3 separate regions of the Homo sapiens genome follow, and all the other regions are linked to region 1. The links are contacts of gene promoters, found by promoter capture Hi-C in human tissues and cell types (Jung and others, 2019). All regions are on one chromosome and are shown on one strand. Each heading gives the region's core, a stretch centred on a gene start or on the middle of the fragment in contact. The rest is flanking DNA. Distances are from core to core; before and after follow the strand shown.

Evidence for each region. Contacts are between HindIII fragments. The study calls those that stand out against the background at their distance.
Region 2: the fragment with the promoter of DHX8 here is called in contact with the fragment with the promoter of MEOX1 in region 1 in 1 of the 25 tissues and cell types used here (IMR-90 fibroblasts).
Region 3: a fragment that was not itself captured here is called in contact with the fragment with the promoter of MEOX1 in region 1 in 1 of the 25 tissues and cell types used here (psoas muscle).

What each region holds. Positions count from the first base shown.
Region 1 is chr17:43,660,511-43,664,210 of GRCh38, reverse strand. It overlaps MEOX1 (mesenchyme homeobox 1), which reads left to right and starts at 2,289. Exons shown (of 3, transcript NM_004527.4): 1 at 2,289-3,145. The coding sequence starts at 2,677. RefSeq lists an enhancer at 2,995-3,536. The HindIII fragment of the contact is 25,285 bases long and covers 1-3,700 here.
Region 2 is chr17:43,481,981-43,485,247 of GRCh38, reverse strand. DHX8 (DEAH-box helicase 8) reads right to left here and starts at 1,273. Exons shown (of 23, transcript NM_004941.3): 1 at 1,063-1,273. The coding sequence starts at 1,210. RefSeq lists enhancers at 1,009-1,438, 738-1,580. The HindIII fragment of the contact is 21,666 bases long and covers 1-3,267 here.
Region 3 is chr17:43,841,425-43,844,617 of GRCh38, reverse strand. All of the region lies in intron 2 of LOC107984979 (a long non-coding RNA gene), which reads right to left. Among named protein-coding and RNA genes, the nearest start is that of CD300LG, 4.2 kb to the left of the region's middle. The HindIII fragment of the contact is 4,230 bases long and covers 1-3,193 here.

The DNA of each region.
Region 1 (3,700 bases), core at 1,040-3,539:
CATCAGAGTCTTCTGCTGAAAAACGGAGCTGATAAAAAAAAAAGAGAGAGAGAGAAACGGAGCTGATGAGAATGACTGTTGCCTCAGAAGGCTTTTGTGGGAATCCGTGGGGGTAAAAATGTGTAAGGTGCAAAGTGCCTTACACAGATCCCACTCTGACTGTCATCTCAGATGAGGAAACAGAAGTTCAGAGAGATGGCCAGGCATGGTGGCTCATGCCTGTAATCCCAGCACTTTGGGAGGCCGAGGCGGGCGGATCACGAGGTCAGGAGATTGAGACCATCCTGGCTAACACGGTGAAACCCCGTCTCTACTAAAAAATACAAAAAATTAGCCGGGCGTGGTGGCGGGTGCTTGTAGTCCCAGCTACTCGGGAGGCTGAGGCAAGAGAATGGCGTGAGCCCGGGAGGCGGAGCTTGCAGTGAGCTGAGATCATGCCACTGCACTCCAGCCTGGGCGACAGAACGAGACTCCATCTCAAAAAGAAAAAAAAAAAAAAGAAGTTCAGAGAGATAAGGTGACTTGTTCCAGGGCACACAGCCAGGAAGTGGCAGACCTGGGGCTTGAACTCAGACCCGTCTAACCTCAAACCCCATGCCTCCTCCTCTGCATCTGGCCTGCTCCAAACTGAACAGCAGGACACCTGAGGCCAAGTGCTGATTCCACCATTTCTTAGCTGTGTGAGTCTGGGCAGCCCAGTCATCCATCTGAGCCTCGGTTTTGTCATCTGCAAAATGGAGACATAATTCTTACTTACCCATCCTAGGAAAGTTGTGAGGCTCAGAGAATTGTGTGTGCCACAGCTAAGCCCTGGGCAAAGCAGAAAGATGAGTCTGGTTGACAGCTATGACCCCATCCACTCTACTGGTCTACAACACTCTGACCGCTTGTTCCAGAAGAGGGCACATCTTTTCATATGTACACCCCTCCCCATCTTTTACAGCTGCTCCTGCTCCCAGGATGTGTATCTGACTGGAGTTTCTGGATTAAAGGCCAGTCGTGGCTTCATTCCACATCCCTGGGTGCCCTTCGGCTCCTCCTAGGAGCATCTCCTGCACCCACCCCCCAGGGCCCCACCTCCAGGCTGCAGAGCTAAGACCTAGGGGCCCCTCCTCAGGGAACCCTCGCCGTCTTTGGAAGCAGCCAGCAGAGACGCTGCTGTTAAGGTCCATGCCTGTTTCTGCCCCCATCCTGCTGCTCTGGGCCATGGGAATAACCAGTGGGGAAGGAGTTCTGGCCCCTGGGTGTTAGGAATGTCGTCCTCCAAGAAATTGCATTAACCCTCTGAGAGACCAGCAGGGCGCAGCCATGAGGAAGACTGGGCATCAAGATGGCACTTGGGCTGGCTGCCCTGTGATGTGCACCAGCCCGGAGACCCACGTGCCTGCTTGCCAAAGAGGCTCCTTTGGGGAATGAGGAGCCCCTGATTCCTATTTCCCTACCCCAAATTCCTCGGAAGCCTCCGCCTCTGGGGGATGAGAAAGGGAAGCAGGTGGGTGGAGGTGAAGGGGGCAGGGAGCAGGTGGGAGGAGACCCGAAGAAACTTCAAGGACCTTATTTAAGAGCCTTGCCATTGCTGTGAAGAAAAATGACTTGAAACCTCTCTAGAGAAGAGTGTGGCTAATTGGCATGTATGTTGGAGGTTAAAGAGCGGAAGGAAGAATCTGATTGTTTTTTTAAGTTACTGAGAAAGTGAGAATGTCACTCTGGGCAGAGAGAAATTCTTTTTTTCTAGAGTGTGCCTTTCTTTGTACTGCAGACCACAGTGGGCCGCTGAGACTTGCAAAAAAGATTTCTTTTAATCCACCTTCCTTTTTCGCAGGCAGCAGTAGAAGGGCCTTTAAATCAAATGCAATCACCAAGCTTGTCTCTTGCTCTTATTCCTCACTTCACTCCCTGGAATTTGGCATTTGATGGATTCTGGATCTGACTTAAGGCTTTTTCTAAATCCAAGACTTGGGGAATTTTGTTAACAGTGCAATAAAAATAACTTCATAGTGTTACAGGAGGCACATTAAAGACGGTGTGTGTGTATGTGTGTGTGTGCTGCTCTCTTTCCTTAAAAAAAAAATACAGACAATGTTTCTTTAAAAGTCTCCATCTGCAAATCCCATTAGATGTGCATATAAGGTTTCTGATGATTAATAGTTGCCTGCTAGGGTTTTGGTTGGAGGGGATCTTGTGTGTGTGGGTTAACCCCTCCCTCTCCTCTCTCACATTTCACTTCAGAAATTTGTCACTCTCTCCCCACCGCAGGATTTAAAAGTGTGTCCCAGCAGCCCTGGTCCAGCCCTCTGCAGGCATTTGCTCTGGGCTCCAGGACGAACTCCTCGTCAGCTGGTGCGTCTGGGTTGGGACAGTGAAAATGTTTAGTGTCATTGGCGACAAATACACATACAGGGGATCCCAGTAGGTAGGCTGGTGCATTGGAGGGGCAGGAGCAAGCCCGACATAGGTGTGTGCACACACATAGGAGTAGCTGGCCACATGTGTGTGTACTTTAAGGAGAGACTTTAGTTTTGGGTTTTTTTTTTTTTTTGGTTCCTGGGGTAAATTTTCTGTTGAACATTTTTCCCTCCTATTTAGTTTTTTTTCTTTTGCATTTTTAAAAATTTGAACATAAAAAGTATAAAGAATCAAATCTTTGAAAGGACCGAGGCGTGCAGCGGACAGCAGATGGATCCCGCGGCCAGCAGCTGCATGAGGAGCCTCCAGCCCCCAGCCCCTGTCTGGGGCTGCCTTCGAAACCCCCACTCGGAAGGCAATGGGGCCTCAGGGCTACCCCACTACCCGCCCACCCCGTTCTCCTTCCACCAGAAACCAGACTTCCTGGCGACAGCGACGGCAGCGTACCCTGACTTCTCAGCCTCCTGCCTGGCAGCCACCCCACACAGCCTGCCCCAGGAGGAGCACATCTTCACTGAGCAGCACCCCGCTTTCCCACAGTCCCCCAACTGGCACTTCCCTGTCTCAGACGCCCGGCGCAGGCCCAACTCAGGCCCGGCAGGGGGTTCCAAGGAAATGGGGACCAGCAGCCTGGGCCTGGTGGACACCACAGGAGGCCCAGGCGATGACTACGGGGTGCTTGGGAGCACTGCCAATGAGACAGAGAAGAAATCATCCAGGCGGAGAAAGGAGAGTTCAGGTAGGTGGCTCAGGAGCAGCTGATCATTCCTTTACTGTGTGACCCTGGGGAAGTTACTCACCCTCTCTGTGCCTAGGTGCTCTGAGCATGAATTTCTGTCTAGTCCATCCAAATGCAGGAGACTGGACCAGTTACCTTTGGGGTTTCTTCCACTGAGAGTTCTAGGATTCTCTGGTGATGGGGACCATGTCTGTGTCCCAGCACTCCTGGGCCCCAGAAAGGGTGTCCAGCAAGAGAATGAAACAGGATCAGCCAGGATTTGGAGGACACGTGAAATGGATCCTCTGGGTGCAGACTGGCGAGGGCTGGTGAGGGGCTTTCCTGAATCAGGCTGCCATTGAGTCATCCTCCTCCCCACCATGCTTTGGCCAGCCCCAAGTGGTCCTAGAGCCACAGGGCTCGCTTACCAGGGAAGTTCAGCTGAGGTTAAGGCTCTGAGAGCTAAGACTGAAGCTGGGACCCTGGGTGGCCACCCAAAGCCAAGACCCTATGTGTCCAGGAGCCTAGAGGCAGAGAAGCAGGCCTGCGGCTGGGATGGGAGAATCAAGGGGTGAG
Region 2 (3,267 bases), core at 24-2,523, 180 kb after region 1:
GGAAACTGAAGAGTGGGCTGGAACTCTCTCACTCATCTTCCCACCACCAATCTCTAAACTCATCTGAATCTGCAACTGTATTCTCTGTCCTCGCTCCTGTTACAACTGAAGAAGCCTTGCTGTACGTACCAAAGGTCAATCCATCCATTGGTTGCCCTTGATCCCATCCATCCTCTGTACCTTCATAAAGGCTCCATCTGTCTATGGCTTTAGCTTTAGGACCCTAGCCTTTTCTAATTCCTCAGTTTCGGCTCCCCAGATGTAGTTTGCCCCAAAACATCTAGTGACTGGTGTTTAAGACATAGTACAGGACGCAATGGCTCACGCCTGTAATCCCAACACTTTGGGAGGCCGAGGGAAGAGGACTGCTTGAGCCCAGAAGTTCGAGACCAGCCTGGGCAATACAGTGAGACCCCCGTCTCTACAAAAAATTTAAAAATGAGTCGAGCTTGGTGGCGCCCGCCTGTAGTCCCAGCTACTCGGGAGGCTGAGGTGGGAGGACTGCTTGAGCCCAGGAGGTGGAGGCTGCAGTGAGCCGAGATCGTGCCACTGCACTCCAGCCCGGGAAACAGAGCGAGGCCCTGCCTCAAAAAAGAGTACAGGATGAACGGTCAAAGAACACAGTTAAAAGCACAGACGCTAACTACTATGTCACAGAGTGGCGTGAAGACCAAATAAAATAATGTCAATAAAGAGCTGAGCATCGCATCTAGCACATAGTGAGCACCCAATAAACGTCAGCCATCATCGTCGTCATCGCAGCATCTGCTGCTGTTGTTGTTAAACATGTTTAATTGAGGCTGAAAAAACAAACAAAAAACAATCAAGCAGAGATGACCGCCCCGGGCTTCACTGACAGCTCTGGGAAAGTTTCTAAAGTTTCTCGAGGGCTCTCAAGCCGAGGCCACGGCAGCGTGTACCCTGGGCACCGGTGTCTGCGACAGAGAGAGACAGATTCACACGAACATACTTTCGGTCCATCAACCACCTTTCTCCTTCCTCCTTCCTCCTTCCGCTTCCCTCAATCCCAAACTGAGGTCCCAGGGACCTCCCCGAGCTCACCAAGGTCCTTGTCGTTGATCCCCAAGTGATTGTCCAGCTCAGTGCAAACCTTTGACACCAAAGACAGGTACTCGAGTTTGGCAAGTTCTTCCGCGGGGCCTGGCTCCGACCCGATTAAGGCTCCCGCCATGGCTACAGCCACAGCCATGGCTATAGCTTGCCCAGAACCTCCTTCCTCACAGCCGGCGCTCAGAGCTACTCCGGCCGGGTTCCAGCTTTCACTTCCGGGTCAGCGCGCGTCCCCTTTGTTTACGGTAAATTGAAAATTTGAGGAACGAATCAAGTCCCAACAGGATGGATCATAGAGATCAAACAGGAAGTGCTTAAGGAAGGGACAACTAGAGTGGGTTACTCTGCACGCCGATCTGCGCCCTCTACAGGCGAGAAAAATCTCCGCCCGCCCTCAGGCCTGGAAACGTTCACTCAGCGCGCTCCCGCCCTGGGTCGGCAGAGGGCGACCCCGGCCTGCACAAGAGGCGCCGGGAGGCAACCGCAAAACAGCCTGCGCCTGCGCTTTAGAACACTTGAAAAAGGAATCTTAATGCACGTCTGGAAAAAGACAAACTTGCTTTACTGTGGATCCGCAAATTCCCGGCCTCACTTCTTTGTGGTTCCTGTCGTCCGATCTCAAGTGACCCTTGACAAGCCAGTAGGCAGTAGATTGCCTTCTCTTGTTTTACACACGAAGAAACTGGCACTTCCACTGCCAGCTGGCTGCTTGGGCAAATCAATCTCTGGGGCCTTAGTTTTCTCATCTGTAAACTAGAATAATGTTGCTCTACCCTAAATGGAATAACTGCAAGGAGTGTGACACAGAGTAGGCACACCGCAAATGACAGTTACTGTTAATATCACAAGGCTAGGCCGGGTGCAGTGGCTCACGCCTGTAATGCCAGCACTTTGGGAGGCCGAGGCTGGTGGATCACTTGAGGTCAGGAGTTCCAGACCAGCCTGGCCAACGTGGCGAAACTCCATCTCTACTAAAAATAGAAAACTTAGCCGGGCGTGGTGGTGGTGGGCGCCTGTAGTCCCAGCTACTCGGGAGGCTGAGGCACAAGAATCGCTTGAACCCAGGAGGCAGAGGTTGGAGTGACCTGAGTTCACACCACTACACTCCAGCATGGGCGACAGAGTGAGACTTTGTCTCAAAAAAAAAAAAAAAAAAATTCAAGGCTGAGATGATGGTCACAGAACTGGCCTCTGGTCTGTCAAGCACAGATCCCCTTAGTCTGGGAACCCACAGAGCCAGCTGCCTCCACTCTTGTGAAAACCTGCTTTTCAATCCCCAGTTTTCCTGTGTCCTCTCAGAACTTATTCCCCCAGGGGCTGGGCACTGTGGCTCACCCCTGTAATCCCAGCACTTTGGGAGGCCGAGACGGGCGGATCACTTGAGGTCAGGAGTTCAAGACCACTCTGGCCAACATGGTGAAACCTCGTCTGTACTAAAAATACAAAAATTAGCTGGGCGTGATGGTATGTGCCTGTAGTCCCAGCTACTAGGGAGGCTGAGGCGGGAGAATTGCTTGAACCTGGGAGGTGGATGTTGCAGTGAGCTGAGATCTCGCCACTGCACTCTAGCCTGTGCGACAGAGTGAGACTCCGTCTCAAACAAACAAAACACACACACAAAAACAACAACAAACCTTATTCCCCCAAATATCAGCTGTGCTGTAAGTCCAAGGTCATAAGCTCAGGTCTCCCAACTTCTGCTTCAGGTCTTTTTTACCTTTGTGGCAACCTTAATGTGGGATGGGGATTTTTCCCACACTCCAGTGCTCTGTGTGATGAGTAAGGAAACAGAAGCACCCTAAAGTGAATGGCTCTCCAATCAATCGGAAGGAGGAAATCAGTCTCCCACTTTTCACTTTGGCAACATTTTTACACTGGTGTACCTTTGGACTCTGTTTCTTCAACATCTCATCATGGACTGAAAAATGACAGGCAGAGAAAAACCCAGCCATTGTTCTCACTGTCTCCAGAAGCTCCAGGTTTCCAGGTTCCTAAGGAATCACTACTAAACCCTCTGAGTTCTTCCTACCCCTCCCCATTTCGCTTCCTCTTTCTCCCCATGAATAGAATGGAAAACTCTGCACTTGATCCAATGTGCTCAATTTGCCAGCTTGGAGTTACGATTTCAAGGGCTTATTCTATCTGATGTTCATTCTCTGTGCTTCTTTCTCTTTAAAAATTAATATTACTATTCTG
Region 3 (3,193 bases), core at 627-3,126, 180 kb before region 1:
CATGAGCCTCGCACCTAGTTCCACCTTAGGCCACACTCTGGGGTAGATGGGGCCAACAGACAGACCTCCGTGGTGGGCTGGGGATCTGAGAAGAGAGGATATTTTTGTCCTGCTTCCCACCAGAAGCATGGGGAGGTGCCCCACCATCACTGCACCTGGGAGAGGCAATGAGGCACAAGGGCTCCTGGACAGGTCACTGGGCTCGTGACAGCCTCATCACATCCTCAGGAAGGCCTCTGTGTGCCCAAGAGGTACAGTGGCAGGGATGAGGGGACTGAGCTGCTTGGTCTTCGATGGCCACCCTGGTCCAATTCCTCTCGGTTTGGACTTGGACTAAATCACTTCAGCTGCTCCAAGAGGGTCACTTGCTCCTCTTAGATCAAGGTTTCCCCAACCTCAGTACTGTTGACATTTTAAGTTAGATAATTCTTTGTTGTGGGAGACTGTCCTGTGAATTATAGGATGTTTAGCAGCATCTCCAGCTGTACCCCCTAGATGCCAGTAGTCCCTTCCCAGTTGTGATAATCAAAAATGTCTCCAGGCTGGGTGAGGTGGCTCATGCTTATAATCCCAGCACTTTGGGAGGCCAAGGTGAGTGGATCACTTGAGCCCAGGAGTTTGAGACCAGCCTGGGCAACATGACAAAACCCCGTCTCTGCAAAAAATACAGAAAATTAGCCAAGCATGGCAGTGTGCACCTGTGGTCCCAGCTACACACAGGCTGAGGTGACAGAATCACCTGAGCATGGGAGGTCGAGGCTGTAGTGAGTCGAGATCCCATCACTGCACGCCAGCCTGGGTGATGGGAGTGAGACCTTGTCTCAAAAAAAAAAAAAAAAAAAAAAAGGCCGGGCGCAGTGGCTCACGCCTGTAATCCCAGCACTTTGGGAGGCCGGGGTGGGCGGATCACAAGGTCAGGAGATCGAGACCATCCTGGCTAACACGGTGAAACCCCGTCTCTAAAAAAATAAAATACAAAAAAATTAGCTGGGCATGGTGGCGGGCACCTGTAGTCCCAGCTACTCGGGAGGCTGAGGCAGGAGAATGGCGTGAACCCGGGAGGTGGAGCTTGCAGTCAGCTGAGATCACGCCACTGCACTCCAGCCTGGGTGACAGAGCAAGACTCTGTCTCAAAAAAAAAAAAAAAAAAAAAGCCTCCAGGCATTGTCAAACATCCCACTGAGAGGCAAAAATACCCTGGGTTGAGAACTGCTGTCTTAGATGATGAATAACTGTGGAACAAATAAGTGCACTTTTGTGTAAGTTATGTTTATTGTTTATGTAGGTCAGGGTGTTCCATCTTTTGGCTTCCCTGGGCCAAGAAGAAGAATTGTCTTGGACCACACATAAAATACAGTAACACCAGTGATAGCTGATGAGTTAAAAAAATAATCTCATAATGTTTTAAGAAAGCTTACGAGTTTGTTTGGGGCTTCATTTAAAGCCATCCTGGCTGCATGCAGCCCGTGGGCCGCGGGTGGATAAGCTTGATGCAGGCATAGTAACACGGTTTTGGAAACAGGACAGTGGGCAGAACCTAATGCTGAACCCCAGAATCAGGTAAAACTGCGTCCTTCTTTCCTCAGTGGAGCTGGGCCATCCTCGTAATACTCAGGGTGAGGTGTGGTGTATCAGTTTAGAACACACACTTTTTGCAGGTGGGCCAGCTCACCAGAGAAAAGGAAGAAGAGAGCCGGGTTACACACGCCTTGTTCCTCCTTCAACATTCATCAATCAAATCAGCAGAGGCATGGAGAAAGGCGTGGAGAGGTGTAGAGAGAGGCGTGGAGAGGCGTGGAGAGAGGCGTGGAGAGGCGTGGAGAGAGGCGTGGAGAGGCGTGGAGAGAGGCGTGGAGAGGCGTGGAGAGAGGCGTGGAGAGGCGTGGAGAGAGGCGTGGAGAGAGGCGTGGAGAGGCGTGGAGAGAGGCGTGGAGAGGCGTGGAGAGAGGCGGGGAGAGGCGTGGAGAGAGGCGTGGAGAGGCGTGGAGAGAGGCGTGGAGAGGCGTGGAGAGGCGTGGAGAGAGGCGTGGAGAGGCGTGGAGAGAGGCGTGGAGAGGCGTGGAGAGAGGCGTGGAGAGGCGTGGAGAGAGGGGTGGAGAGGCGTAGAGAGAGGCGTGGAGAGGCGTGGAGAGAGGCGGGGAGAGGCGTGGAGAGGCGTGGAGAGGCGTGGAGAGAGGCGTGGAGAGGCGTGGAGAGGCGTAGAGAGAGGCGTGGAGAGGCGTGGAGAGAGGCGTGGAGAGGCGTGGAGAGAGGCGTGGAGAGGCATGGAGAGGCGTAGAGAGAGGTGTGGAGAGGCGTAGAGAGAGGCGTGGAGAGAGACTAAGAGTTTTGTGCCAGTGGGGTTCTCTGCTCATGGAAGGAAACATCAGGAGTGGGGAAGACGTGTCCCCGGCAAAGACAAATGAGCCACAAGACAGGAAGATTTGGATTCCTGAGCTACCACTTGGAAGACAGCTGCCCTGGACAGCCACCAAGCGTGCGGCGGACTTGGAATGAGCAAGAGATAGACTTTTCTGTGTTTAGCCACGGAGATCTTGCAGTTTGCTAGTTGCTGTAGCACAGTGTAGACCACCACCATGCTTTTTGTTTTCCGTCATACATTCATCCTCTAGTCTCCTCGCAGCTTCCCTACCCTAGCTGGTTGCAAACTCGATTTTTCAACTTTCTCCATCAAACAAATCTGAAAACTCCCTTTCAATTTTTTTTTTTTTTTTTTTTTTTTTTTGAGACAGCAGGCGCGATCTCGGCTCACTGCAACCTCCACCTCCTGGGTCCAAGCGATTCTCGTGCCTCAGCCTCCTGAGTAGCTGGAATTACAGGCACGTGCCACCATGCCCAGCTCATTTTCTGGTATTTTTAGTAGAGACAGGGTTTCACCATGTTGGCCAAGCTGGTCTCAAACTCCTGACCTCAAATGATCTGCCTGCTTCGGTCTCCCAAAGTGCTGGGATTACAGGTGTGAGCCACCGCACCCGGCCCCTTTCAAATTTTTTATGTTAACCAATTACTTCGGGGAATGACAGGGAAAATGATGGAGGAGGGCAGTAATGGGAGACTGGTAATGCCTCAGGAGCTCAATCAGTAAATGCCCACGTTTACTGATAGGTAAATTTCAAATCTTCTCAGAAACTTTGAAGGCTAACTGCAATGTGTTATCTTGGACTGGATCCCAGAACAGAGAAAGGATATTAGT